4 separate regions of the Homo sapiens genome follow, and all the other regions are linked to region 1. Evidence: promoter capture Hi-C in human tissues and cell types (Jung and others, 2019). All regions are on one chromosome and are shown on one strand. The core of a region is centred on a gene start or on the middle of the fragment in contact, and the rest is flanking DNA. Distances in the headings are between cores, read along the strand shown. Region 1 holds the start of PTGIR (prostaglandin I2 receptor). Region 2 overlaps STRN4 (striatin 4). Region 3 has its middle 49 kb from the start of PNMA8B. Region 4 overlaps PRKD2 (protein kinase D2).

The links. Contacts are between HindIII fragments. The study calls those that stand out against the background at their distance.
Region 2: a contact is called between a fragment that was not itself captured here and the fragment with the promoter of PTGIR in region 1, in 5 of the 25 tissues and cell types used here (dorsolateral prefrontal cortex, lymphoblastoid cells, small bowel and 2 more).
Region 3: a contact is called between a fragment that was not itself captured here and the fragment with the promoter of PTGIR in region 1, in 9 of the 25 tissues and cell types used here (IMR-90 fibroblasts, adrenal gland, dorsolateral prefrontal cortex and 6 more).
Region 4: a contact is called between a fragment that was not itself captured here and the fragment with the promoter of PTGIR in region 1, in 2 of the 25 tissues and cell types used here (mesenchymal stem cells and spleen).

The regions. Positions count from the first base shown.
Region 1 is chr19:46,621,343-46,627,434 of GRCh38, reverse strand. It overlaps PTGIR (prostaglandin I2 receptor), which reads left to right and starts at 2,346. Exons shown (of 3, transcript NM_000960.4): 1 at 2,346-2,438; 2 at 3,198-3,977; 3 at 5,763-6,092. The coding sequence starts at 3,210. RefSeq lists enhancers at 1,631-2,131, 6,052-6,092. The HindIII fragment of the contact is 28,599 bases long and covers 1-6,092 here.
Region 2 is chr19:46,739,693-46,745,000 of GRCh38, reverse strand. The region is part of intron 1 of STRN4 (striatin 4); the gene reads left to right. It also overlaps a transcript of FKRP not described here. Among named protein-coding and RNA genes, the nearest start is that of FKRP, 3.7 kb to the left of the region's middle. The HindIII fragment of the contact is 3,275 bases long and covers 1,086-4,360 here.
Region 3 is chr19:46,541,714-46,547,805 of GRCh38, reverse strand. It overlaps the pseudogene PPP5D1P. Among named protein-coding and RNA genes, the nearest start is that of PNMA8B, 49 kb to the right of the region's middle. The HindIII fragment of the contact is 3,360 bases long and covers 2,133-5,492 here.
Region 4 is chr19:46,692,243-46,698,334 of GRCh38, reverse strand. PRKD2 (protein kinase D2) reads left to right here. Exons shown (of 18, transcript NM_016457.5): 8 at 485-602; 9 at 1,101-1,178; 10 at 4,202-4,460. Among named protein-coding and RNA genes, the nearest start is that of MIR320E, 14 kb to the left of the region's middle. RefSeq lists an enhancer at 264-764. The HindIII fragment of the contact is 5,541 bases long and covers 1-4,956 here.

The DNA of each region.
Region 1 (6,092 bases), core at 1,097-3,596:
CCAGGAGTTTGAGACCAGCCTGGGTGACACAGTGAAACCCTGTCTTTACAAAAATACAAAAATTAGCTAGCGTGGCAGTGGGTGCCTGTAGTCCCAGCTACTCAGGAGGCTGAGGTGGGAGGATCGCTTGAACCCCAGAGGTAGAGGTTGCAGTGAACCGAGATTGCAGCACTACACTCCAGCCTGGGTGACAGAGCAAGACCCTGTCTCAAAAACAAACGAACAGCCAGGCAAGGTGGTTCACGCCTGTAATCCCAGCACTATGGGAGGCCGAGGCGGGCGGATCACCTGAGGTCAGGCGTTCAAGACCAGCCTGGCCAACATGGTGAAACCCCACCTCTACTAAAAATATAAAAATTGGGCGCAGTGGCACATGCCTGTAATCCCAGCTACTCGGGAGGCTGAGGCACGAGAGTCGCTTGAACCCGGGAGGCGGAGGTTGCAGTGAGCTGAGATCATGCCAGTGTACTCCAGCCTGGGTGACAGAGCAAGATTCCATCTCAAAACAAAAACAAACAAGCAAAAAGAAAAACAACAACAAAAAAGAAACTGAGGCCTGGAAGGGACAAGGGTTTGACTGTGGTCCCACTGGGCATGGGAGCAGAGGGGACTTCCTGAATGTTAACCGTCCTTGTAACAGGAAGCGAGAGAGGGAGTCTCCGGGAACCAGAGGCCCCCCCGATGCCGAAACAAGATGCACGCCTGCCAGGCATCATCCTTCATTAATATGATATAACTTCCTGAGTTCCCTCTGGTCTGTCTGGGGACCTCACGGCATGAGGCGGGACAACGTGGCAGGACCTGGAGCCCACATGTACAGGCACCCCCAGAGCAGGGCTGGGGGGTCCCTTAGGGAGCCACGGTGGGGCTGGAACTTGGGCGTCCATCCTGCTGGAAGCTGCGGGTGCCAGCTGGGCAAGGGTGATAGGGAGATGGGGGGGAGGGGCAAAGGGGTTGTGGTCACACACCGGGGTACAGAGGGCAAGACGGCAGCTGCCCACAGTCCAGTCCTTGGGTTGGACACATCCCTCCTGGCCTTGGACAAGAGACACCCGCACAGCCTCTCTCCTTGTTACAAAGACCAATCTGGGATGTGCTGCAGGCCGAGGCTGGCCACCAGGTCCCTGAGGCCCGTGTTACCCCACGCACAGAGAAGGAGGCTGAAGTCTACCAGCTCCCTCTCCTCACCTGGGACCATCTCGCAGCAAGAAAAAAGGTGGTCAGATGGAAACAGGAAGCCAAGTCGAATGGATCTGAGACCGTCCCCCTGAGAAACAGCGGGGCTCAGAGAGGGTCTCTGAGGTTTTATCTGGCCCTTTTGGGCTGGGAGGCTGCCTGGGAAGCCACCGACTCCGTGGGAAGGGAGACCCGTGAACGCTGTGCGGGTAGCGGGAACATGTGGGTCTGTCACACTGGCCCGAGGCTGCAGCGGTGGTGGCTTGGCTGTGTTTGGGGAGGGTGGGGGACACATGGCAGCAATGTTGGAGCTGTGGACAGCTTCCTGTGATCAAAATATGATTCCTGAAGGTCAAGGTCACCAGAGCTTGGCCTGGGGCCTAGGGGTGCTGTGCGAGAAGTCGGACGGTGGCCCAGTGCTACCTTTCCATCATGGGCCATGGAAGTCTCCCAAGCCTGTCCCTGACAACTGGACACCAAATACACCCCTTCATGCTTTCTTCTCGGGTCTCTGCAGGGTGAGCTGGGTGCCCAGGGACAGGCTCGAGGGACTGGCATGTCTCTCTCTGGCCAAGCCTCCTTCCTCAGCTTTCTGGAAGGAGTGAATTGTGTCCAGGGACCAGAACTCTCAGTGGTGTCTGGAAAACACTACATCAGAGAGGAATTTCCTGGTCATTTCTCAATCCCTGGGCAATGTCCTCAGCCCCGGGGCCTGGAGCCCAGAATAGATCCCAGAGGCCACCCTGAGACAGCCCAGGCCAAGACCACCCCACTGAAGCCTGGTCAACTGTGCTCTTCAGGTCCCTCCTAGAGGCCCCCTACTACCCCGGGAGGCTCCAAGCCTAAGTGATGGTGACTCAGGAATTCCCCACCCAGGCCAGAGAGGGAGACACTGGGGGAGGGAGGAGACCTGTGTGTGGGGAGGTGGCAGGTGGCTCAGTGATGGGAACCAAGAGAGGATGTGGGGAGGAGAGTGGAGGCAGCGATGGGAGATGGATGTCCTGGATTGGGCGGGTGGACGGGGAGTGGGGAGTGTGCCAGGGGGCCCTCTGGAGAACAGTGAGGGAGGGCGGGGCAGAGAGAGGAAATGAAAAAGCTGGGGTGAGCAGGCAAGCTGAGGAGGGTGGGAAGGAGGGAGGGACGGAGGGAGGAGGGAAGGAGAAGCTGACACACAGACCGACACAGGCAGCGAGAGACACGAGGAGCAAAGCAAGTGAAGGCACAGACGCACGGGACAGGAGAGCCTGGGCAAGACTGGAGAGGTGCGGTGAGGGGCTGGGGATGCAGCAACACAGAGCAGGAGCAGGTAGAGGGTGTGGGGTTAGAGGGAGAAAGGTACGGGGAGGACAAGGACAAGGGAGGGGACAGAGACAGGGAGATATCAGCAAGAGACCGAGAGACAGGGAGGGAAAGAACTGGCAATGCCCGGATGTTCTCTGTCTCTTTAATGGCAGAAACAGAGCTAGAGAAGGAAAGAAACAGGAGGTGGTGGGGGGGTGGTGGGTGTCAGGCATGGTGGCTCACACCTGTAATCTCAGCACTTTGGGAAGCCAAGGTGGATGGATCACCTGAGGTCAGGAGTTCGAGACCAGCCTGACCAACATGGTGGAACCCCGTCTCTACTGAAAATACAAAAATTAGCTGGGCGTGGTAGTGGACGCCTGTAATCTCATCTACTCCAGAGGCTGGGGCAGGAGAATCGCTTGAACCCAGGAGGTGGAGGTTGCAGTGAGCCGAGATCATGCCATTGCTCTCCATCCTGGACAACAGAGTGAGACTCTGTCTCAAAAGAAACGAAAGAAAAGAAAGAGAGAAAGAGAAACAGGAAGGTGGGGAGAGACAGAGAGAGATACTGGAGAAGCCAGAGGGGAGAGGACTGCATACCCGCACACACAGGAGAACTGGGGGTTGGCTGGGAGGCCCCAGCTGCCAAAAGGACTGGCCAGCAGGGACATCTGAGTGGGCTGGGTGGTGGGGGTAGCCCTGGCTCCCTCTGACCCCCCACCTTGGGAACCCTCCAGCCCAGACCTGGGATGGCGGATTCGTGCAGGAACCTCACCTACGTGCGGGGCTCGGTGGGGCCGGCCACCAGCACCCTGATGTTCGTGGCCGGTGTGGTGGGCAACGGGCTGGCCCTGGGCATCCTGAGCGCACGGCGACCGGCGCGCCCCTCGGCCTTCGCGGTGCTGGTGACCGGACTGGCGGCCACCGACCTGCTGGGCACCAGCTTCCTGAGCCCGGCCGTGTTCGTGGCCTATGCGCGCAACAGCTCCCTGCTGGGCCTGGCCCGAGGCGGCCCCGCCCTGTGCGATGCCTTCGCCTTCGCCATGACCTTCTTCGGCCTGGCGTCCATGCTCATCCTCTTTGCCATGGCCGTGGAGCGCTGCCTGGCGCTGAGCCACCCCTACCTCTACGCGCAGCTGGACGGGCCCCGCTGCGCCCGCCTGGCGCTGCCAGCCATCTACGCCTTCTGCGTCCTCTTCTGCGCGCTGCCCCTGCTGGGCCTGGGCCAACACCAGCAGTACTGCCCCGGCAGCTGGTGCTTCCTCCGCATGCGCTGGGCCCAGCCGGGCGGCGCCGCCTTCTCGCTGGCCTACGCCGGCCTGGTGGCCCTGCTGGTGGCTGCCATCTTCCTCTGCAACGGCTCGGTCACCCTCAGCCTCTGCCGCATGTACCGCCAGCAGAAGCGCCACCAGGGCTCTCTGGGTCCACGGCCGCGCACCGGAGAGGACGAGGTGGACCACCTGATCCTGCTGGCCCTCATGACAGTGGTCATGGCCGTGTGCTCCCTGCCTCTCACGGTGAGTCCCCTCCGGAGCTGGGAGGAGTGGGGAGAGGAGGAGGGCAGCTCTGTGGGTTGTGCCCATGTCACAGATGGGGAGACTGAGGCTCAAAAGAGGTGAGACATCGTGGGCATGGTGGCTCACGCCTGTAATCCCAGCATGTAGAAAGGCCGAGGCAGGACCGGATGCGGTGGCTCACACCTGTAATCCCAGCACTTTGGGAGGCCGAGGCCGGCGGATCATTTGAGGTCAGGAGTTCGAGACCAGTCTGGCCAACATGATGAAACCCTGTCTCTACTAAAAATACAACAAATAAATAAATAAAAAGTAGCCGGACGTAGTGGCACATGCCTGAAGTCCCAGCTACTTGGGAGGCTGAGCCAGGAGAATCGCTTGAACCCCGGAGGCGGAGGTTGCAGTGAGCTGAGATCGTGCCACTGCACTATAGCCTGGGTGACAGAGTGAGACCCCGTCCCAAAAAAAAAAAAAAAAAAATAAGAAAAAAAAGAAAAAGAAAGGCGAGGCAGGACGATCACTTGAGCCCAGAGGTTTGAGACCAGCCTGGGCAACATGGTGAAACCCCATCTCTATGAAACATTTAAAAATTAGCCTGGCATGATGGCCTGTGCCTGTGGTCTCAGCTACTTGTGAGGCTGAGGTGGGAGGATTGCTCCGGCCTGGGAGGTTGAGGCTGCAGTGAGCTGTGATTATACCACTGCATCCCAGCCTAGCTGACAGAGCAAGACCTTGTCTCAAAACAAAAACAAAGAAAACAAAAACAAATCAGACAGAGGCTTGGTCCTCAGTCAGACAGCTCCTGGCTTTCTGGAGGGGTCTTTCTGCATCTGACTTCTTCTGATACCTTGTCTCCCAGCTTAGGCATCCTGAGCCCCCCATGATGAAATGCATCCCCCATCCTTCCCCACCCCTGTAATGACAAGACCACCACTCATTGAGCACTTCTCTATGCCCGCCCCGTGCTTAGTGGCTTACAGATACTTCCTAAGATAATTTTCAAAATGATCATAGCCACCCATTCCACAGTATTTGGCAGGAAACCAAGAGAACGTTCTCTCCCATCCCCGTTTTTACAGATGAGGGGCAGTGTCTTTCGCCCAGTCACACAGAGCCAGGTCCTGGTCCTGGGTCCTTCCATTGTAGAGCCTGATCTCCCACCTACCTGGCTCCCCTCTGCCTCAGAGCAGGCCCCACCCTTGCCTCTGCACCTCGGTTTCCTGCGGGGACCCCGTCCTGCCCCTCCCCAATGGGAGTGGCACAGACCCTGGTACCCACTCAGTGTCTGTGACACCTGGTCGTGCCACCTTTCTTCTGAGCTTCAGTTTCTGTTTCTGTAAAATGCAAGAGGCCAGGCCGGATTGGGGGGTCCTTAAATCTTTTTTGGGGGTTACTCTGACTCAGAGACTCAGATGCCGTGGACAGATACACACAGGCACCACCGCAGCTCTGCGGCAGTTTCAGGGGGCCCAGCCGGGTGGCGCCACCTTCTTGCAGGGACGTTATACTCAAAAATCTGTGGAGCCCGAGGGTCCTCCCAGCTTCCAAGGGTGGGGGGACCCACATACCTGGCCCCCATCCCTCTCCCCTTAGGCATCTCTGGCAATTTCCTGGGGCTTTCTCTCCCTGTGTTCCCCAGATACATTTGTTACTTAGTCTTTATCTTATCTCCTTCCCCTCTGACATGTCACCCCTACCTCATCCCTGGTAAGCAAGTGGGAGGAGGGAGCCAGGGTGGGGAGGCTGAGGACTCCTGGGTGCTCCTTGACGCCCTCACCCTGCCCTCAGATCCGCTGCTTCACCCAGGCTGTCGCCCCTGACAGCAGCAGTGAGATGGGGGACCTCCTTGCCTTCCGCTTCTACGCCTTCAACCCCATCCTGGACCCCTGGGTCTTCATCCTTTTCCGCAAGGCTGTCTTCCAGCGACTCAAGCTCTGGGTCTGCTGCCTGTGCCTCGGGCCTGCCCACGGAGACTCGCAGACACCCCTTTCCCAGCTCGCCTCAGGGAGGAGGGACCCAAGGGCCCCCTCTGCTCCTGTGGGAAAGGAGGGGAGCTGCGTGCCTTTGTCGGCTTGGGGCGAGGGGCAGGTGGAGCCCTTGCCTCCCACACAGCAGTCC
Region 2 (5,308 bases), core at 1,474-3,973, 120 kb before region 1:
GAAAAGACCCCGTGGTTTTTGGGGTAGCTTGGGACAGGGATGTTGAATGGAAGAGTCTGAGGAGTTGGGCTAGGGTTTGTGACCTCGTGGAGCGTCAGGTCCATTGGCAGTGACTGGAGGACCATGGAGATGTCCGGATTTGAAGGGATCAGGAATGGCCCGCTGGAAGTCTGAAGATTCTTGGACTGGGTTATTATTAGCAGAAATTGTCATTACCTGCTTGTAGCAGCCCACCTTTCCCCTTCCGATTTGCCGTTTGCTATCTAGTAGGAAGCTGGTACCCAAATAAATAGCTGATGAGAATTGTGTCGGTAGGGATGGGGTGCGGTGGCTCACGCCTGTAATCCCAACACTTGGGGAGGTTGAGGTGGGAGAATCCCTTGAGCCCAGGAGTTCGAGGCCAGCCTGGCCAACATAGCAAGACCTCATCTCTACAAAAAAGTACAAAAATTAGCCGGGTGTGGTGACATGCGCCTGTAGTCCCAGCTACTCAGGAGGCTGAGGTGGGAGGATTGCTTAAACCCCGGAGGTTGAGGCTGCGGTGAGCCATGATTGCACCACTGCACTCCAGCCTGGGCAAAAGAGTGAGATCCTGTCTCAAAAAAAAGCATTTTGTTCATAGGATGAGTAAAGACCCTCCAGTAACTCTCCCCCTGCCCTCACTTGTGGTGGCTGAGGCTTGGGGCTGGGATGGGAGCAGAATCCTTATGTAACTGCTCTCACTTCTGTCCCACTCTCTACTTCCGAAGCTCTTTCCCAGCATACATCTCATCAGATCTTCACAATGCCCTGTGATGTAGGCAGAGGCAGTGTCATTACCTCACTCAGCAATAACGGTACCAGCTGCAATTTAGTGAGCACATACCATGTCTGGGGCGCTGTATCAAGTACTGTAGATACGAGCTGTCATTTAATTCTTGCAGCATTCTGGGAGGATAAAGGATATTCCCCCTACCTTTAAAAAAAATCAGGAGAGGAAATGGAGGTTTTGAGAGGGTGATTTATCTAGGATCCCAGCAGATGAGCAGAAGGGCTGGTCTGTGGTGGACCTTTTGTTTATTTATTTATTTATTTATTTATTTTTATTTTTATTTTTTTGAGACAGAGTCTCACTCTGTCACCCAGGGTGGAGTGCAGTGGCATGATCTTGGCTCATTGCAACCACTGCCTCCCAGGTTCAAGCGATTCTCCTGCCTCAGCCTCGCAAGTAGCTGGGATTACAGGTGTGCACCACCACCACGCCTGGCTGATTTTTGTATTTTTAGTAGAGATGGGGTTTTGCCACGTTGGTCAGGCTGGTTTCGAACTCCTGGCCTCAAGAGATCCACCTGCCTCGGCCTCCCAAAGTGCTGGGATTACAGGCATAAGCCACCATGCCCGACCGTCGGTAGACTTTTAAGCCCATGTTCTGTACCTCTCTGCTACCCAGTACAGTTGAGAAAATTGGTTCAGGCAAGCATAGTGGCCTCCCCAGGGTCACCCAAGCAGTCATAGCAGAGCTTGGACTGAATCTTGGCCTCTGGGACTTTGCACCAGTGCACCGCACAGCACCCACCACACCATCTTCTCATCCTGGAGGCTGATGAGAGAAAAGATGTTTATCCCCTCACTTACTGACCCTTCTTGGAGTTTGAGAGGAACTTGTGTCTGGCATGGTACCAGCACTGTCACTTTGTACTTTTGTTTTCTTTTATTCTGTTAAGTTAGTAAAAATTCAGACATCTCAGAGGGGTGTGTGTGTGTGTGTGAGTGTGTGTATACACATATATATGTAAGTGAAAAAGGAAAGTTCCTTCTCTTCGTCCCTTTCCTGCTCTTCTCTCCTGAGAGAGAAGAGTTATTGTGCTTATGTAATAGATGAACTACTGCTGTATGTATCATTTTGTGACATAATAATCTGTTTTGGTTTTCCTTTCATATCAGCACAGAGAACTCTTTCTTTTTGATAGCTGCATAGCGTCCCACGGGATGTTTGCACCATAGCTGATTGAGTTTGACCCTGGTTGGTGGACTTTTAGATTTTTTCTAGTTTTTCCCCCATCAGACATGGCTGCAGTGAGAACCCCTTATTCCTGTGCAAGAATGAAGCAGAACAGATGAGTGGAATAGTAGAATGGATGTGTTTATGAAACAGTGATTGGGCTGGGCGCGGTGGCTCGCGCCTGTAATCCCAGCACTTTGAGAGGCCAAGGCAGGTGGATCACAAGGTCTGGAGTTCAAGACCAGCGTGGCCGATATGGTGAAACCCCACCTCTACTAAAAATACAGAAATTAGTCGGGCGTGGTGGTGGGCGCCTGTAGTCCCAGCTACTCGGGAGGCTGAGGCAGGAGAATCGCTTGTACCCGGGAAGCAGAAGTTGCAGTGAGCCGAGATCACACCACTGCACTCCAGCCTTGGTGACAGAGCGAGATGCCATCTCAAAAAAAATAAAAATAAAAAAAGAAACAGTGAATGACTCTGCCACATTGACCCACCAGTTTACTCTCCCATCAGCGGCACCTCTTTTACACACCTTTACTTGAACACTTAGTGCTAACAGACGGTGTGACTTCCCCTGTGAGATCCCTTAAGAGCTAGGCAGTGTCAGATTTTCCTGATGGACTCTGAATAACTTTTCTCTGAAGAGCTTAATACAGCTGCTCCTAGCAGAAGACCTGCCGTGCGACCCTGCTTGGTACCTGTGTGTTGAATGGCAGAGAAGGCAGCCCCCAGGGAGGTCCTGCCAGTAGTCACCATAAGTTTGGAGCAGGAAGGTGGCGGAGCTGCAGTCTGATAATGAGCAGGCATTTGCTAGGTGGGGGATTCTGAGAAGTAAGTAACGTGGTTTCTGCCCATCCGAAACTTCCAGGCTGGCAGAGGAAGCTTGTTTGTGCAGGGGACCGCAGAGCTGTAGATGTTCATGCACAGTTGATTGTGTGGCTCTGCCCCTGTTCTGTGGCAACTCTGAGAGGGGAAGCTTTTTGAGGATGGGAGGGACCTTTTAATGAGGGATCTGAACTGGAGATTTGTATAGGAGCAGCGACAGGGACCTGCAGTGAGTGCGGTGCCAGCAGAGAATGTGCGGAGCTGCCCCTGCCCACTTCAGCTTCCTGGGGGCCCATTCCTGCCAGCAGCTGCTGAAGCTTGGGAAGGAGGCCCTTAGGAGATGCAGGGCTAGATGGCACGAAACGGGGACTCTTCCCAGCTAGCTGGGACAGGAAGCAGCGAATTCAGAGAGGCATCAGCTCCTGGGAGGACTGAATTGCTGGGACTCCTCCGAAGCCTTTAGATGTCGCCTTGCTGGGAATAGCTGGAGGGGCGGAGAGGCAGTAGCTGCCAGGTATCAGAAGGTTTTGGGAGCGCATGCTCTGCGGCTCTGGCTAGAGGGAGTGGCAGTGGGTGGATATGGTGAGCGGCACTTCCAGATCCCCGACCGACCCTCAGGCCTACCTTGGCCCTCGCAGACCAGACAGCCCGTGGGGGCTGCTGGCGTTTGCAGCGAGGGAGAGACTGGCCACTGACGCTTCCCGTTTTTGGTGGGTTTCCACCTCCCTGAGATGCTCCAACCATGTCTTTCTGGTTCTCTTTCCAGAGGCACTGGGAAAGGGACAGCAAAGCAGAGTGGGCAGCTGAGACCCTCACATCCTCATTAGGAGGAGGGAGACCACAGCTCGATGAGGCAGCAGAGGGATGAAGGGGGAACCCAGCCAGTGACAGGTCTGGTTGGGATGCCCAACTCCACCTCCTGCCCCCACAGATAGACCACTACTGTGTCCACTGCCCCGGCCTAGTCCAAGCCACTACCGTTCTGTCCTGGGATTTCTGGGACTGCCCTCATCTGTGATGGGGGTCTCTGTGTCCAGCTCTGCCGCTCTCCTGCTCCCTCCCTCTAGTCTCCCTCCAGAACTCCCTCCAGTCAGTTCTCCATGTTTTAGCTGGAGCTGCCTTTATAACATGCGAATCGGTTACCTCTCTGTACTTAAAACCCTTCCATGGCTTCACTGAGCCTTTTACAGGTTCTGAAGCAGCCATCCTGGCCTTTTTTAGAGTTCCTTAAGCCCACCATGCAGCTCTTGTCTCCGTCCTCTGCCAGCAGGGCCCTTCCCTCCCCTGGCTAACTTCTCTTCAGCTTCAGGCCTTAGCTGAATTGTCGCCTCTTGTCCCTCTTCCCATAGCGTCCTTCGCTCCCGCAATGGGGTCCTAGTCACATTGCATGTGAGTTGCTGCTCATGCCTGTCTCCTGCATGGGACTGAGCCCTGTGGGTGCAGGAACCACATGGCTCCTCTGTTATTCCCCAGCGCCTTACTGGGGCACCTGATGTGTGTGGGCAGTCACCAAACAGTGGCAGGTATTGACCAAGGTGTAGGTTCCCGGCAGGCTGAACTGCCCCTGGGAGGTTGAGGGATCAATCACCAAACCCCAGGAGGGAAGGGAGGAGAGTGAGGAGGAAAGTCAGGACTTGTCTTCGGTGGTCGGTCTGCCTCTCCTCACACCTTCTCCAGTGATTCAGAGAGTAGATTTGGGGGACTGAGAAGATACACAAAGGACAGAAACTCATGCTTCAGAGATGCTGATGTCATATAAGTAGTTTCCCTGTCTGGCCTTGGATGTTTATATACATATGTGTTGGTAAAAAGTGTTAAAAAGGAAAAAAATTTCCCATTCTTGAAGCGGACAGATGAGTTTTCTTTTCTATAAGGTAACTGGTGACATGTATTTCTTTTTTTTTTTGAGACGAAGTCTGGCTCTGTCGCCCAGGCTGGAGTGCAGTGGCACGATCTTGGCCCACTGCAATCTCCACTTCCCAGGTTCAAGCGATTCTCCTGCCTCAGCCTCCCGAGTAGCTGGGACTACAGGTGTGTACCACCATGCCTGGCTAAGTTTTTTGTATTTTTAGTAGAGATGGGGTTTCACCATGTTGGCCAGGCTGGTCTTGAACTCCTGACCTCAAGTCATCTGCCCACCTCAGCCTCCCAAAGGGCTGGGATTACAGGCGTGAGCCACTGTGCCTGGCCAATCCACAGACATTTCTAGTTGATCTGGGGTCTCCAAGGGATCCTACCTCCCGTAAGGAACTGGGCCCATTTCGAAGTTGCGAACAATGGACAGGGAGAATAAAAATGATGAAAGAAGTAGAAGCTGGCATTTGTTAGCCTTTATTCTGTGCCAGGCCTTGACTGAGCAGAACCTAGCACATGAGGGGAGGGCACTCTTGTGACTCTCATTTTCTAGAGGGGCAAATGGAGGCTCAGAGAAGGCTGATGACCTGCGTAAGATCATGTAGCGAGTAAGTGTCTAAGTTGGGCCTGGGCTCTGGCTGTTCTGGG
Region 3 (6,092 bases), core at 2,563-5,062, 81 kb after region 1:
ATGGCATGATGTCAGCTCACTGCAACCTCCGCCTCCTGGGTTCAAGTGATTCTCCTGCCTCAGCCTCCCAAGTAACTGGGATTACAGGTGTGTGCCACCAGGCCCAGCTAATTTTTGTATTTTTAGTAGAGACAGGGTTTCACCATATTGACCAGGCTGATCTCGAACTTCTGACCTCATGATCCACCCACCTCAGCCTCCCCTGCTGGGATTACAGGCGTGAGCCACTGCGCCTGGCCTATTAGTCCGTTTTCACACTGCTGTGAAGAACTGCCTGAGACTGGGTAATTTATAAAGGAAAGAGGTGTAATTGACTCACAGTTCCACATGGCTAGGGAGGCCTCAGGAAACTTACAATCATGGCTGAAGGCAAAGGGGAAGCAAGGCACCTTCTTCACAAAGCGGCAGGAAGGAGAAGTGCCCAGTAAAGGGGAAAGAGCCCCTTACAAAACCATTAGATCTCACTCACTATCATGAGAATAGCATAGGGGAAACCACCCCCATGATTCAATTATCTCCATCTGTCTCTCCCTTGACTCATGGGGATTATGGCGATTACAATTCAAGATGAGATTTGGGTGGGGACATGAAGCCTAATCATATCACCTGGGGAGGTGTCCATGAAAACTGCTGGCACCTCAGAACTATTTATTTCTGCTTTCAGGTAACAAGGAAGACTTTGGGACCCTGAGGAGTATGGCTGCAGCAGTCTTAAGCTTTGGACAGGGGCTTAGAGTGGTGGCTCATGCCTGTCATCCAAGCACTTTGGAAGGCCCAGGTGAATGGAGCCCAGGAGTTTGAGACCAGCCTGGGCAATATGTTGAGACCTAGTCTCTAAAAAAATGCAAAAATTAGCTGGGTATGGTGGCATGCACCTGTAGTCCCAGCTACTTGAGAGGCTGAGACAGGAGGCTCCCTTGAGCCTGGGAGATTGAGGCTGCAGCTACTGCACTCCAGCCTGGGGAACTGAGTGAGGTCCTGTCTCTTAACACAAACAAACAAAAACCTTTGGACAGCAAAAGCCCATCTCCTCTTCTCCTCAGGCACATGGCTGCCTGGCTGGGGACTACATTTCCCAGCCTCCCTTGAGGTTGGCTGCAGCCACATGACTGGGTCCTCCCCAGTGGCTTGCAGTTGGACATGACTTGCGCAATTTCCACTTTACCTGCTTTCAAGGAAATGTCTTGCTCTGAACTTTCTCTTTTTTCCCTTTCACCAAGTCACTCAGAGGTGGCACATTCAATTATGCAAATGCTGACAGAGCATGAGGTCAGTGGCTCTCAAAGTGGGCATCAGAATTCCCTGGAGAGTTTGTTAGGGCACAGTTTTCTGGGTCCTGCCCCCGGAGCTTCCGACTTAGTAGGTCTTGGGGGAACCTGGGAATGTGCATTTCCTATGAATTGCCAGAGGCTGCTGCTGGTCTCGGGACTACACTTTAAGCAACAATCCGAAAGAATCTGGGTTCCTGAATGATGGCCACACGCACAGCCTCACAAGGTCATTCACCCCGGAGCTACTATGGGAAAGAGAATTCAATTTGTTTTTATTGTTTAAGCTACACTATTGTCTTACAATAAGATGGCCAGTGAATTTTTGTTTCTCCTTTAGCCAGTTTGACTTAGATTTCTGTTGCTTGCAACTGAAAATGCCCTGATCATCATATGTAACATTGACTGCTTTTGATTTACTCATTCAGTAACTATTTATTGAAAATCCCACGCTGAGTGCTTTTTATTTATTTTTACTGTTTTTAATTATTTTTTTTTTATGAGATGGAGCCTAGGCTGGAGTGCAGTGGCTTGATTTCGGATCATTGCAACCTCCGCTTCCCGGGTTCAAGCAATTCTCATGCCTTAGCCTCCTGAGTAGCTGGGATTACAGGCATGCGCCACCATGCCTGGCTAATTTTTTTTTTTTTTGGATTTTTAGTAGAGACGGGGTTTTGCCATGTTGGCCAGGCTGGTCTTGAACTCCTGATCTCAGGTTATCTGCTCTCTTCTGCCTCCCAAACTGCTGGGATTATAGGCATGAGCCACCGCGCCCAGCCCCAGGTGCTTTTGAAAGCACTGGGCATACAGCAGTGAGTGAAGCAGTGAGTGAGTAAAAAGTTCCTGTCCTGTCCTTTCAGAGATTCTGATCTTTGTGTAAGGCAGCACACAATGAAGTATTTTAAAGACAAAATATCAGCAAATTCTCAAAGCAACTTTGAGAAGCAGACATCATTTTGAAATCCCATTCTACAGATAAGTGCGCTGAGGCTGCAGTAGCAAAGCTGGAGTTTGAACCTAGATCTGTGCGAGTCCAAAGGCTAAATTCTCTCTCTCTCTCTCTTTTTTTTTTTTTTTTTTTTGAGACAGAGTCTTGCTCTGTTGCCCAGGCTGGAGTACAGTAGTGCGATCTCAGTTCACTGCCACCTCTGCCTCCTGGGTTCAAGCGATTCTCCTCCCTCAGCCTCCTGAGTAGCTGGGATTACAGGTGCCTGCCACCATGCCCAGCTGATTTTTGTATTTTTAGCAGAGATGGGGTTTCACCATGTTGGCTAGGTTGGTCTTGAACTCCTGACCTCAAGTGAGCCTGCCTCGGCCTCCCAAAGTGCTGGGATTATAGGCACGAGCCACCACACATGACTCAAAGGCTAAACTCTTGAGAGTGGGCCATGCTGCCCCAAGAAGCTCCACTGGATTTATTTGAAGGTCCTTGCCAAATCAGTTGGGGAAAAAAAGGCAGATTCAGCCCATGGATCCTTAAGTACCACTCGAAGAGTGGCATGCTTTTCCCAAATGTCACCTTTTGTCTTTAAGGCAAAGGTGGTGCCAGATCTTCAGCTCTCATGTCTCCTGCACAAACTCTCCCAGGCGTGAGAAGAGACTCCACTCTGCAGAAACTCTGTCTCTAAGGGGGAAGTGACAGTCAGAGAAGGGAACAGGGATATTACTGAGGCCAGAAGGCCCCTCTCCCCTCAGTGAGGCCCACGCTCGTGCCCAAAGCCTGTCTGTCTTCCTAAATAATGCAGTGTGGAAGAGTAGAGGCTTTGCAGCCAAGCAGACAGGATTTCATAACCCTGGTTCCAGTACTTCCCAGTGTGTGATCTTGGACCATCAACTGGGCCTCTGAACCTCAATCTCCTCCTCTATAAAAGTGGCACAATGGCCGCAGGCGGTGGCTCACGCCTGTAATCCCAGCATTTTGGGAGGCCGAGGTGGGCGGATCACTTGAGGTCAGGAGTTTGAGACCAGCCTGGCCAACGTGGCGAAACACTGTCTCTACTAAAAATACAAAAATTAGCCGGGCGTGGTGGTGGGCACCTGTAATCTCAGCTATTCAGGAGGCTGAGGCAGGAGAATCACTTGAACCCAGGAGGCGGAGGTTGCAGTGAGCCGAGATAGTGCCATTGCACTCCAGCCTGGGCAACAAGAGCAGAACTCTATCTCAAATAAAACCCAGAAAACCAAAAAAAAAAAAAAAAAAAAAAACCCAAAACAAAACAAAAAGAAAAAACAAAAACAACAACAACAAAAAATGGCACAGTAATAGCTTAATTCCCAAGCTTGTTCAGGATTTTGTGGGTCAGGAATGTGAAAAGGGTTTGACTGGATGTTCATTTCTGTTCCACGTGGCATCATGTGATGAGGGCTGGAGGACCCACCTCCAAGATGGCTTCTTCACTCCCATGTCTGGAAGCTTCAATTCTCCTGGGCCTTCTCACAGCTCCATGCTCTTAGGGGAGCTGCAATTCTTTTTTTATTATTTATTTATTTATTTATTTGAGACGGAGTTTCGCTCTGTCGCCTAGGCTGGAGTGCAGTGGCCGCGATCTGGGCTCACTGAAAGCTCCACCTCCTGGGTTCACACCATTCTCTTGCCTCAGTCTCCCGAGTAGCTGGGACTGCAGGCGCCTGCCACCACGCCCGGCTAATTTTTGTATTTTTAGTAGAGACGGGGTTTCACCGTGTTAGCCAGGATGGTCACGATCTCCTGACCTCGTGATCCGCCGCCTTGGCCTCCCAAAGTGCTGGGATTACAGGCGTGAGCCACCGCGCCCGGCTGGGGAGTTGCAATTCTTACACAGTAGCCTGGGAGCCAAAGAGATCACGACGGAATCTGCTGGTTCCCTTAAAATGTAGATCCAGGCCTGGCGGTGTCACTTGTTTGTTTGTTTGTTTGTTTGTTTAGACAGGGTCTCGTTCTGTCACCCAGGCTGGAGTGCAGCGGCGCCATCATAGCTCACCGCAGCCTCTACCTCCTAGGCTCAAGGGATCCTCTTGCCTCAGCCTCCCGAGTAGCTGGGACTACAGGTGCGGGCCACCACGCCAGCCTATTTTTAAAAGTTATATTTTTGGCCGGGAGTGGTGGCTCACGCCTGTAATCCCAACAGTTTGGGAGGCGGAGGTGGGTGGAAGTCGGGAGTTCAAGACCAGCCTGACCAACATGGATATACCCTGTCTCTACTAAAAATACAAAATTAGCCACGTGCGGTGGCGGACCCCTGTCATTCCAGCTACTCGGGAGGCTGAGGCAGGAGAATCGCTTGAACCCAGGAGGCGGAGTCTGTGGTGAGCCGAGATCACGCCATTGCACTCCAGCCTGGGCGACAAGAGCGAAACTCCGTCTCACAACAAAACAAAAAAGTTATTTTTAGTAGAGTTGGGGTCTTTCTGTGTTGCCCAGGTTGGTCTTGCAGTCTTGGGATCAAGCGATCCGCCCACCTCTGCTTCTCGGTGTTGGAATTACAGGCGTGAGCCGCCATGCCCAGCACAGTGTCACATCTGTCATATTCTATGGGTCAAAGCAGTCAAGGGTTCTTTCTCAATCAGACTAAGACCAACAGGAACAAGCTTATTGTATTAATTTGCTAGGGCAGCCTTAACAGACAAGAAGGGAGGTGAGTCGCCTTTTAGTTTAAGTAGATACGGTCATGCTATTCTCTAATTGGCCACCAGATGGCGCGCTGGACTTACTATTAGTACAGTTTGTAATTGCCCTTCCGAGAGTGGCCACCGCCACTCAAGCGACTGGACACTGGACTAAGTGCTTCTGTTAATTTGGATAAGACAAGACTCTCACTTTCTTTGATAAAATATAAATCTAGAAGAGCCCTAGGCTTTTATTGCATCATGATCATGGAAGGAGAGAAATGATCCTTTTCTGATTTGCCAGAGAAAACCAACCAGTATTTATTCTTTAGGAAATACAGAGATGCTATTTAACCTCCTGGTCACCATAGCAACAAATAATCAAGGAAGACAACCAATCAGAATGCAGGTTTCTTTGGGAGGTTCTTTTTTTTTTTTTTCAGATATTGCAACAATTTCTAAAAAAATCTTAGACTCTTTTGTTCAAATTATCCTTTCAAGGAAAGACACAAATGAACAGAGTTAACAAATGAGGCTGGTAACAGGAAAATTAACTGGAGCTCCTGGCTGCACGGGAGAACAGAATGAATGTTTAGGGTATGTTCTCAATGTGCCACTCTATTAAAATTGATTTTTTTTTTTTTTTTTTTTTTTTTTGTAGACAGAGTCTTGCTCTGTCACCCAGGCTGGAGTGCAGTGGCGTGATCTCGGTTCAATGCAAACTTCGCCTCCCAGGTTCAAGCGATTTTCCTGCCTCAGCCTCCCGAGTAGCAGGGATGATAGGTGCCTGCCACCACGCCCGGCTAATTTTTTTGTATTTTTAGTAGGGATGGAGTTTCACCATGTTGGCCAGGCTGGTCTCAAACTCCTGACTTCAAGTGATCCGCCCTCCTCGGCCTCCTAAAGTGAAAAAACTAATTATTTAGAGCAATTTCATGATGCAGAATAGAACCCCTTCCTATACAGCTGCAAGAGAGAACGGGCTTTTTTTTTTTTATGTTTGAAAGCACTGACTTTGCTAAGCGTGGTGGCTCATGCCTGTAATCCCAACACTGGGAATCTGAGATGGGAGGACCACTTAAGCCCAGGAGGCCAAGGCTGCAGTGAGCTATGTTTGCACCACTGCACTCCAGCCTGGGCAATGGAGTGAGACCCTGTCTCAAAAAAATGCAATAATTAAATATAATAAACACTTGAAACAAACTTTATAGGAACCACAGTCTCAAGATGAAGAGTTAC
Region 4 (6,092 bases), core at 937-3,436, 71 kb before region 1:
TGTAAGCACTCTGGGAGGCCGAGGCGGATGGATCTCGTGAAGGGATTCTAAGGGTGGGACTAGGGGCAGGAGTTAGGGAAGGAGTTGAGGCAAAGAGTTCGAGACCAGCCTGGCCAACATGGTGAAACCTCATCACTACTAAAAATACAAAAATTAGCCAGGGGTGGTGGCGTGCACCTAATGGTCACCGTGATTGTCCCGGCCACTCAGGAGGCTGAGGCACGAGAATCGCTTGAACCCGGGAGGCAGAGGTTGCAGTGAGCCGAGATCGCACCACTGCATTCCAGCCTGGGTGACAGAGCGAGCCTCTTAAAAACAAACAAAAAGCAACTCCCGGGTGTGTGTTGGGGGGAAAATGTCAAAACAAACCAAACAAACAAAAACAGTCCCCAACTCCCTAGTTTCCCAGAGATGCCCCCTGCATTCCCAAGCAGCATGGTCACTTTCTGCATGTGACTTCTCACCCCTTCCTCTTCCTTCGCAGCTCCCTGGGGTACATCCCCCTAATGAGGGTGGTGCAATCGGTGCGACACACGACGCGGAAATCCAGCACCACGCTGCGGGAGGGTTGGGTGGTTCATTACAGCAACAAGGACACGCTGGTGAGTGGCCGGGGCGGGGCCGGGTACGGCGGAGCGAAGGCTGGAAGAGGGGCGGCTCAGCTTGAGTAGGCGGGGCTAGGTGGGTGGGGCTGGAGCTAGGCGCGAGCGGGGCCAGTAGTGGGCTGGGCCGTGCTGGAGGCGGGGCTAGAATTAGAAGTGTGGGCTGTAAGGGTGGGACTACGGGCAGGAGTTAGGGAAGACCCGGGGCTCAGGGCAAGGTCAGGGGCGGGGCTAGAGTTAGGGGAGGAGCTTGGCTGGAGGAAGAGGGCTAAGTGGGGGCGAGTCTGGGGTTAGGGCGTGGGGGCTGGGCTAGGGTTAAGGCTAGGGGCGGGGCTGGGGTTAGGGCGTGTGGTGGGGTGGGGTTACGGCGTGGGGTAGGTGCTAGAGTTACGGCGTGCACGTGGTGCTCCAGGCACCTGGAGCCCCAAGCAGCTCCACGGGATAGGGACTGGGCAGGAAAGTCTGGCGGTTCACGTGACTCTTCAAACATCTCTGCAGAGAAAGCGGCACTATTGGCGCCTGGACTGCAAGTGTATCACGCTCTTCCAGAACAACACGACCAACAGATACTATAAGGTAAGCCTCCGGGCTTTCAGCTCCCTCGGACTTCCCGCTGTGCCCACAAACTTTCCCACACCTCCTCCTACCCCCAGTTACTCCAGACAGATCCTGCAAATCACACCCTCTGCCCACCCCCAGCCTCCCTGCTTCCAGCTCATCAGCAAGTGCTGCCCATCCGATTCTGGCCCCACCACTTTCCAGCCAGGGGGACTCCGGGCAGGTTCCCTTACTTCTCAGTGCCTCACGCTTCTCACCTGCAAAATGCCTCAAATGCTAATACTCACCTCAGGGCTGGTGCGAGAATTCAAAGAGCCAATCCACTAAACCAATTGGCTTAAGGCGTGGTATATATTAAGCTCCCAGTAATTCTAAGGCTGTTCTCACTATTCCTTTATTTTTTGTTATTTATTTATTTTTTGAGACAGAGTCTCACTCTGTCGCCCAGCTGGAGTGCAGTGGCGCGATCTCGGCTCACTGCAACCTCCGCTTCCCGGGTTCAAGCGATTCTCCTGCCTCAGCCTCCCACCCTAGGACTACAGGTGAATGCCACCACACCCAGCTAATTTTTGTATTTTTAGTAGAGACGGGGTTTCACCATGTTGGACAGGATGGTCTTGATCTCTTGACCTCATGATCTGCCCCCCTCGGCCTCCCAAAGTGCTGGGATTACAGGCATGAGCCACCGCACCCGGCCTCACTATTTCTTTATAATTAATGTATTGCATTGTGTGCGTATTCGTCACCACCTCCCATGCCCACACTGTGTCCCAGCCACTGTCTTCCACCTGGATGGTTTCAGCCTTCTCCTTGCAGGGTCCTTGCTTCTGACCTCACAACCTCTGTCATTTCCCCCACAGCCAGGGGAGTCTTCATTAAAACCGTCAAACCCCCCAGTGGCTCCCATTGTCTTAGAGTAATAAAACCTGGACTCCAGCTGTTACCTGCCCTGGAGCGTCTTCCTTGAACTTTCCATGGCTGGTTCCTTATCATCTTCCCATTTTGCTCAGACCACACCATCTAAAATGCTGTCCTTGGCCAGGCGTGGTGGCTCACGCCTGTAATCCCAGCGCTTTCAGAGGCCGAGGTGGGCGGATCACTTGAGATCATGAGTTCGAAACCAGCCTGGCCAATATGGTGAAACCTTGTCTGTACTAAAAATACAAAAATTAGCTGGGCATGGTGGCGGGTGCCTATAACCCCAGCTACTTGGGAGGCTGAGGCAGGAGAATTGCTTGAACCTGGGAGGTGGAGGTTGCAGTGAGCTGAGATCGCGTCACTGCACTCCTGCCTGGGCAACAGAGCAAGACTCCATCTCAAAAAAATAAAATAAAATAAAATATAATGCTGTCCTCACCATGCCCCCCCGACGTGTCCATGTCATCACCTGGTTTTATGGGCTGCCTAAGTCATTCATTCTTTCCTCTCTCCTACCTCCCTCCTTCCTCTTTTGACACGTTTCCCACCCCATAGTCCCTGTGCCTTCTGTCCCGCCTGGGTCCCCTCAGCCTCCTTCCTGGTTCTCTGTCTCCATCTCATTCTATTCCATCTGCCCTCCGCACACAAGCGGATGATGCTCAAAAGCCTTCAGTGGCTTCCTAGGGCCCTTGGACAAAGCCCAGGCTCTTCCTTGTGGCCCGCAAAGCCCTGTGTGGCCTCATTTCCTCCATTTATTATCAAACGTTTATTTTTGAGACGGAGTCTCGCTCTGTCACCCAGGCTGGAGTGCAGTGGCGCGATCTTGGCTCACTGCAACCTCCGCCTCCGGGGTTCAAGTGATTCTTCTGCCTCAGCCTCCCAAGTAGCTAGGATTATAGGTGTGCCACCACGCCTGGCTAATTTTTGTATTTTTAGTAGAGATGGGCTTTCACCATGTTGGTCAGGCGGGTCTCGAACTCCTGACTTTGTGATCCGCCTGCCTTGGCCTCCCAAAGTGTTGGGATTACAGGCATGAGCCACCATGCCCAGCCCATTTATTTATTTTGAGACAGGCTCTTGCCCTGTCTCCCAGGTGCAGTGGCATGATCATGGCTCACTGTAACCTCTGCCTCCCTGGCTCAAATGATTCTCCCACCTCCACAGTAGCTGGGATTACAGGTGCGCACCACCACACCTGGCTAGTTTTTTTATTTTTTGTAGAGATGGGGGTCTCATTGTGTTGCTCTGGCTGGTCTCAAACTCCTGGGCTCCAGCGATCTGCCTGCCTTGGCCTCCCAAAGTGCTGGGATTACAGGCTTGTGGCACCATGCCTAATTTTTAAATTTTTTGTAGAGCTGGGGTCTCACTGTGTTGCCCAGGCTGGTCTTGAACTCCTGGGCCATCTGCCCACCTCGGCCTCCCAAAGTGCTGGGAGTACAGGCACGAGCCACCACATCCGGCCATCAAATGTTTATCAAGCTTTTACTATGTCCAGGCACCGCCCATGTGATGGGGATACAGCTTGGCTTTTGAGCATAGCCTTTCCTTAGGGCCTTTGCACATGCTGTTCCCCTACTCCTTGCCAACTGGCTGCTTCTTACCTTTCTGGTCTCTGCTTCAATATCACTTCTGCCAGTAATTAGTATTATTATTATTATTTTTGAGACGGAATCTCACTCTGTCGCCCAGGCTGGAGTGCAGTGGTGCGATCTTGGCTCATTACAACCACCGCCTCCCAGGTGCAAGCGATTTTCCTGCCTCAGCCTCCCGATTAGCTGGGATTACAGGCGCACACCACCACGCCTGGCTAATTTTTGTATTTTCAGTAGAGACGGGATTTTGCCATGTTGGCCAGGCTGGTCTCGAACTCCTGACCTCAAGTGAGCTGCCCACCTCGGCCTTCCAAAGTGTTGGGATTACAGGCATGAGCCACCGCACCTGGCCTCTGCCAGTAATTATAAAAGAACAGTGAGAACAGGCTTAGAATTACTGGGAACTTGTCTGACCACTGTGCAAACCAGGCCCATCCCTATCAACATGGATCCCGTGTATCCTTCTGGGTAAGCACTAGAATTCCAAGGTCTGCCTGGCATCCTCACCTGTGCTGGTTCCACGTCCTGCAGGAAATTCCGCTGTCAGAAATCCTCACGGTGGAGTCCGCCCAGAACTTCAGCCTTGTGCCGCCGGGCACCAACCCACACTGCTTTGAGATCGTCACTGCCAATGCCACCTACTTCGTGGGCGAGATGCCTGGCGGGACTCCGGGTGGGCCAAGTGGGCAGGGGGCTGAGGCCGCCCGGGGCTGGGAGACAGCCATCCGCCAGGCCCTGATGCCCGTCATCCTTCAGGACGCACCCAGCGCCCCAGGCCACGCGCCCCACAGTAAGTCCTCCCACCTCGGGTCCTTGAGAGAATAGATCTAGATGGGTGGGGCACGGTTCTGGGGAATGGAAGGGCCAAAGAGGAAAGTGGGCAATGGTGGGGTTGAGAACGCAGCTTCTGGACTCAGCAGGCCTGGGTTCAAACTCTGTTAATCACTCCTGTTAATCCCAGCGCTTTGGGAAGCCAAGGAGGGAGGATCACTTGAGGCCAGGAGTTCAAGACCAGCCTGGGCAACATAATGAGATTCCATCTCTACAAAAAATAAAAACAATTAGCCAGGTGTGGTGGTGCACACCTGTAGTTCCAGGTACTTGGAAGGCTGAGGCAGGAGAATTGCTTGAGCCTGGGAGTAGTGAGTCATGATTGCATCACTGCACTCCAGTCTGGGTGACAGAGCAAGACTCTGTCTCCAAAACAGAAAAAACAACAACAACAAAAATCCACAACAAATCTCTGTTAAGCTCCTGGCCTGATATGTGGCCCTGGGCATATCACTTCCCCTCCATGAGCCTTGTCCCAGGTGCTGATAAGTCCTCATGCACTTACTGAGTGCCTCCTCTGTGCGGGACAGTGCTGGGGACCCAGTGGTGGCCAGGACAGCCCAAGACCTGCCCTCATGGGGCTCAGAGTCCAGTAGGGCAGAATACCCATCTTCAGAGAGTGACAGTCCAGGGTGGGCAGGGTTGGGACAAGGAAGCTAGGGAGCTAGAGGAGCCCAGAGGGGTACCTGACCCAATCTGGGTATATAGGGGGGCTTCCTGGAGGAGGTGACATCTGAACTGAGATCTGGAGGCCGAGGCAGGGTGAGATGTGGGAAAGAAAATGGGAGGTCATTTTAGGCAGAGGCAAAAAATGTTGAGAGAGTACCAGGTTCCCACCCTCTGGAGCTTATAATCCAGTGTGGGTGACAGACATTGATCATTAACCCATACAAGCAACGAGTGTGATGCAGAGCATTTGCGAGAGTAATCCAACTTGGTCCTAGGAGTGACATTTGAGCTTACACTTGAGGATGAGGAGGATTTAGCTAAGTCTAGGATGAAGGAAAGAGTATTCCTGGCAGGGGAAACAGCATATGCAGAGACCAGAAGGCAGAAGAGAGTTTGCTGTATTTGAGGCCGAGCAAGGAGGCCAGTGTGTCAGGAATAGCATGTTGGGGGTAGAAGTCAGAGGTAGATGAGGGTCTAGGCCATGGCTTTTAGGCCATTTAAGGGGCTCAGGCTTCTTCCTGAGGGCACTGGGGAGCCATGGCAGAGTTGTGAGCAGAGGAGGGACAGGGTCAGTCTTGTGCCTCAGTAAGATCCCTCTGGTTTCTCTGTGGGAGGTGAGTAGGAAGGGGCAGGATTGGGGCAAGGAGACCAGGGAAGGGGCTGTGGGGTGAGGACCCAGAGTTGGGGGGCGAGCAGGGGCCTAGACTGGTGGAAGAGAGAGACATTCAAATGGCAGAAGGATCGGACTTTAGAAATGTCTGGCTCTGGTTGGGTTTGTAGGGGGAAAAGTTCAAGGGAAGATGCAGGAGTCAGTCTGGGCTTTCCCTCCAAGACTCAGTTTCCTTCTCTGTACAATGGGGTCAGTCTGCCTCCCCTGGTGCTGAGATCCTGGGGTAAAATGCTCAGCAAAATCATCTGTAAC